2 separate regions of the Homo sapiens genome follow, and region 1 is linked to region 2. Evidence: promoter capture Hi-C in 16 types of primary human blood cells and fetal thymus (Javierre and others, 2016). All regions are on one chromosome and are shown on one strand. Each heading gives the region's core, a stretch centred on a gene start or on the middle of the fragment in contact. The rest is flanking DNA. Distances are from core to core; before and after follow the strand shown.

Region 1 (2,700 bases), core at 14-2,513, 80 kb after region 2:
GGAGGTTGGGTGGGGACAGGGCCTCTGCTTAATTAAGGCAGTAGGAGATTATACTTCCGTAGAAAAGCAGTACACTGGGAATTACCCCTATGTCTATCCACATTAAACTCAGGCAAAACCACAGTTGCTTCAAGAAAGCCCCATGATGGAAGGCTGAGGGCACTGGCAAAACCAGGGAGACTGGACACAGAGGAGGACGCTCAAGCCCACTGGCCTCAGGACAGATATCTGCTGGGGGAAGGGACAGAGATAACAACTGCTGTTTCATGCAGCCCAAACAAATCTGGGGACACCCATACAAAAGTCAAGAAAACCCTCCAGGTTCCATTGGAGCCCCCTGAAAAAATACCCGGGTAATTTTCGACAGAAGCTAAAGGGCTCTGTGGGGCTACTGGGGAAATTATTCCTAGGAAGTCTGGAAAACCCTGTGATGGTAACAGAATTTTAAGAGCAACCTCAAATGTACACTCAGAAGAAGTAGGTGTTTCAAGGGGGAGCCCCTGAGACACTTCTACTTAATTTTGGGACCCGAATGAGATTACTAAAAATTTCCACATTTGGGGTTTCTAATGGGGTTTCCCTAAGAAAACCACAGAACTGCCACTATCTGCAAAGGGAGCTGAGGTGCTTCAACTAAGCATACATCCATCTGAAGAAGCCACATTAGGCAATAAGAGATCTACAGAAACTCAGACCACTGAGCCATACAGCTTAAGAAAGGCCAAGTTATGTTTTCTCCCCCAACACAGTTCATTGCTCCCAACAATTACGTTTCTATCAGGCTAAGGGATTTCTTCAGGGACAGCAATCCCAAAGTGGCAAGGCCCACCTGGGTCCCTTCCCACATTCCCATTGGAAAGCACCAGAAACACTTGTGTCCCTTCGGGGAAGGTCATGTATACAACATTCCAGGAAAGTATCACAGGGACTTTGTTTCTCAAGGAGAAACTCTAGGGGGAAGAGTCAGTTCTCTGAGGGAAGCTGCCCATTCATTAAAGGGTTTCCACCCTACAATTATGGCAGGAGAAGGGCTTTTGTGCTAGATCCTTTACTCGAGTCAAGCTATGGCAGCTGGCTATCATTATTCCATTTTACAGGCGGGAGAGACAGATGGACAAGACAGCCGAACAGGTTCAGCATTTCATCAGGTGACTCCAGGCAGGCAGTAATCTGGCTAAGGGTCTACACTTTCAGTCCTTGAAGCATCACTCCACCACTAAGTAGAGATACCTGGGGCAGGCCACCTTCTCCCCACACGCACACCACTGTCATCTATTGGCAGGGCCTGAGAGGGTTTTAACAATGAAAAAATTGGCCGGGGCCAGGCACGGTGGTTCATGCCTGTAATCCCAGCATTTTGGGAGGCTGAGGCAGGCGGATCACCTGAGGTTGGGAGTTTGAAACCAGCTTGACCAACATGGAGAAACCCCATCTCTACTAAAAATACAAAATTAGCCAGGTGTGGTGGCGCATGCCTGTAATCCCAGCTACTTGGGAGGCTGAGGCAGGAGAATCACTTGAACCCGGGAGGCAGAGGCTGCAGTGAGCTGAGATCGCGCCACTGCACTCCAGCCTAGGCAACAAGAGCGAGACTCCGTCTCAAAAAAAAAAAAAAAAAGAAAAAATTAATAAGCAGCTCACTCTGGGCAAAACCCTGATGCCCACTTGAAACCTGCCATGTCTGAGTTTTACCAGTGCCAGAATCTGAGGCTACCAACACGCCTCTGGGAACCTGCTACTGCCAACTATCCTTCCCATAGCTACCTGAACAAAGCCAGTTATCAGTCCAGAGTGAGCACCTTCACAGGCATGGTTTGCTTGGCCCAACAGCATCTCTGGCTTTCTGGGCCAGCATGTCTAGGTCACTTTATTACTCCCTGGACAACTTGATAGGATGAAAAGTGTTGGCTTTAGAATTATGCCAACCTTGGTGTAAATTCTCATTCAGACACTTAACTGGCTGAGGGACACCTGGGGTCAGTCACTTAGGCACAAAGACCTTCATGTGTAAACTGGGAATAAACTCACCTTCCTTGGAAGGTTACTGTAGAATATATGAAACAGCATGCCGTTTCCATGAAGGAAGGTACCATGCGTGGCTTATGGCCAGCACCTAGTACACTGCTAGCTTCACAGTAGATGCTCAAGAAACACTGGTTGCATAAGTAGAGGACCTAACACAGTGCCTAGTACTTAACAGGTACTCAATAAAGACTAATTTCCTTCCCCTTTCCTGTAGGGATGCTAAATTTAGAACATAGCCCTGAGTAGAATAGCCCATAACTCCTACCCTTAAGGATCTCCCAGCCGCAGTCTCCAGGATAATTACCCGATGCCACCACAGTAGCCAGTCGGTGCAGCTTGGAACAGGATAATACCTGAGAGGAAGGGGGCGGGTACCTTCTACCCAGGCTCAAAGGATCCTGAGTCAAATGTTCTTTACTCCCTGGCCTTAGGGAGAGAATGTGTGCTCAGAAATGGTTCTGATATAACTGGCTCTTCCACACACATCCCCTCTGTTCACCAAGAGGAAGTGACATGTGGTATGTTGTCCAACAGGCTCTGATGATTCTTAAGCAAAGAGATGGAAGATGGAATTTCAACCCCATGGAGATCTAATAAACTTACCCAGAGTTGCTGTGTCTAAGACCTCTTTCATATGCACCACTGGGCAGCTGGCAATTCTCTGGTAGGGGTAGC
Region 2 (2,700 bases), core at 152-2,651:
GGCCAGGGTGGTCTCAAACTCTTGACGTTAGGTGATCTGCTCGCCTCCGCCTCCCAGAGTGCTGGGATTGCAGGCATGAGCCACCACGCCCAGTTTTATAAGTAATTCTTGAATAAATGTGCCTGAGCCTTGTCTATTTTTTTTTTTTTTTTTTTTGAGATGGAGTCTCGCTCTGTCACTAGGCTCGAGTGCAGTGGCATGATCTTGGCTCACCGCAACCTCTGCCTTGCGGGTTCAAGCCATTCTCCTGCCTCAGCCTCCTGAGTAGCTGGGACCACAGGCGCCTGCCACCATGCCTGGCTAATTTTGTTTGCATTTTTAGTAGAGACGGGGTTTCGCTGTGTTAGCCAGGATGGTCTCCATCTCCTGACCTCATGATCTGCCCCCCTTGGCCTCCCAAAGTGCTGGGAATTTTTTTTTTCTTTTTCTTTTTCTTTTTTTCTGAGACAGAGTCTTGTTCTGTTGCCCAGGCTGGAGTGCAGTGGCCCGATCTCGGCTCACTGCAACAGCCGCTTCCCAGGTTCAAGTGATTCTCCTGCCTCAGCCCTCTGTGAAGCTGGGACTATAGGTGCGCGCCACCACGCCCTGCTAACTTTTTTTTTTTTTTTTTTTTTTTTTGAGATGGAGTCTAGCTCTGCTGCCCAGGCTAGAGTGCAGTAGCCGGATCTCGACTCACCGCAACCTCCGCCTCCCGGGTTCAAGCGATTCTCCTGCCTCAGCCTCCTGAGTAGCTGGGATTACAGGTGCGTGCCACCACGCCCAGCTAATTTTTGTATTCTTAGTAAAGATGGGGTTTCACCATGTTGGCTAAGCTGTCTCAAACTCCTGACCTCGTGATTTGCCTGCCTTGGCCTCCCAAAGCGCTGAGATTACAGGCATGAGCCACCGCGCCCGCCCAATTTTTCTATTTTTAATAGAGAAGGTGTTTCGCCATGCTGGGCAGGCTGGTCTCAAACTCCTGACCTCAGGTGATCCTCCCGCCTCGGCCTCCCAAAGTGCTAGGATTACAGGCGTGAGCCACTGCTGGCCTAAAAGATGCTTCTGGAGTAGGAGGCATTGGGCCTGGCTGGAAGGTTTGCGTCTGCAAAGGCCTGAAGAGAACATCCCAGGTGGGAGAAACAGCAAGGAGGGGAGGTGTGGAGGAGGCAGGGAGACCCTGTTCTTGGGACTACTGTCTGCAGAGGGTCTCCAGAGGCAGGACCCCGGTAGGGACACTGATGCAGGAGGCGCTCTGCAGTGCCTCCCCCCAATCTGTGGGCCGGGGTGCCCCCAGGGACGCAGGCTGTGCGCTCCCACGCCCTGCCGAAGCAGGACGTTCCCACGCTGGGGCGGCCCCGAGAAAGGCTGTGGGGCGGGCCGGGGGCGGGCGCCCGCACTCAGGTCCCTCCGCAGCGGGTTCTCAGTTGCTCGCTGGGCAGACCCAGGTCGCGCTCCCACTGCCGAGCCCGCGAGGTGAGTGAGTTGGGGGAGGACCCCGCCACCCAAGCCCGCGCGGGTCAGGGGCGCGGCTCGGTCTCCTGCCTTCGCCGCTGGGTCACGCCCCAGTGGTCCCTGTCTTAGAGGGTTGGGGGGCTTCTTGTAGGTTAGAGTTGAAGACTCCTGGGGAGTCTGCATATGTGTGCCATCTCTTTCCCCAAATATAGATTACATCCTCCCTCTCTTGATATGTGGAGCTCTCCCACCCACTAATCATAATCACTGGCCGGAGCCCCTCTTTTCCAGAAGTGTGGGCCGCCCCCTCCCACTTATCACCTGTAGTGTGCCCCCTCCCTCACTCTATTTGTTGGGTGCCCCTCTCTCTCCCTAGATGTGGGACTCCCCTTCTTTTCCCCAGATGTGTGTCTCCCTCCCTCTGACCCAGTTAAGTCCCCATCCTCTAAAGCCCCTCCCCACCACCATGGATGCCAAACCCTGAGTCTTCCCTGGGGGTGGGAGACTGGGCTCAGCCAGACTGGCTAAGCCCAGTCCCCACCCCAACCAGATCCAGCAGAGCAGGCCTGTGTGCACGTAGGCAGCCAATTAGGGGGGAAGGGGTGGGGGCCAGACCGTCTGTCTGTTCTGCCGGTGCAGGGGCCTCTGGCCCCTGCAGGGAAGAGAGACTCAAGAACTGCTCCCTCTCCACCTGGACCCCACCCAGCTTCCTCTGGGGAGCAAACAAGTGAGCGGGGTTCTCCAATCTGGCCAGACTGAGCTGGGGCTGGCACCAGAACCCAAGCCCTCAGCCTCAAACTCTTCAGACCCTGGCCCAAGACTTAGGCCTCCTCCCACTTCTCAGATGGTGAATTGAGGTCCCAAAAAGGGGCTTCAAAGGTCTAGGACCCCCATTGGCCCCCCGCTGGGGATATCAGACAAAATTAGAAGGGTCAAGGGCATGAGGGTGACCTTGAAACACTGGGACACCCCTACCACTACCATACCAGTGGAAAAGGATTTTTCCATCTGGCCCTGCGGTTTGGGGGCAGAGGGTGATGTGGGGGCAGAACTCATCTATACCTTCACGCCCCCAGATGCTCCCCAGAGCTGCCTGGAGCTTGGTGCTGAGGAAAGGTGGAGGTGGAAGACGAGGGATGCACAGCTCAGAAGGCACCAGTGAGACCTGGACTCCTTCCTCCCTGCCTAACTCCAGAGATAGGGGCAGGGGTCCCCTCTGCAGGCTGCCCCCTTTGCCCTTCCATGCCACCCTGGGCCTGTTCCTACCAC

What was found. The method cuts DNA at HindIII sites, captures the fragments that hold promoters and counts their contacts. A CHiCAGO score of 5 or more calls a contact.
Region 1: a contact is called between a fragment that was not itself captured here and the fragment with the promoter of COX4I2 in region 2, in 11 of 17 cell types (megakaryocytes, M1 macrophages, erythroblasts and 8 more). The highest score is 10.1, in megakaryocytes.

Annotation. Positions count from the first base shown.
Region 1 is chr20:31,717,055-31,719,754 of GRCh38, forward strand. The region is part of intron 2 of BCL2L1 (BCL2 like 1); the gene reads right to left. Among named protein-coding and RNA genes, the nearest start is that of BCL2L1, 4.5 kb to the right of the region's middle. RefSeq lists an enhancer at 961-1,010 and a silencer at 1,241-1,340. The HindIII fragment of the contact is 4,439 bases long and covers 1-2,700 here.
Region 2 is chr20:31,636,511-31,639,210 of GRCh38, forward strand. It overlaps COX4I2 (cytochrome c oxidase subunit 4I2), which reads left to right and starts at 1,402. Exons shown (of 5, transcript NM_032609.3): 1 at 1,402-1,452; 2 at 2,508-2,589. The coding sequence starts at 2,508. RefSeq lists a silencer at 1,323-1,462. The HindIII fragment of the contact is 5,408 bases long and covers 1-2,700 here.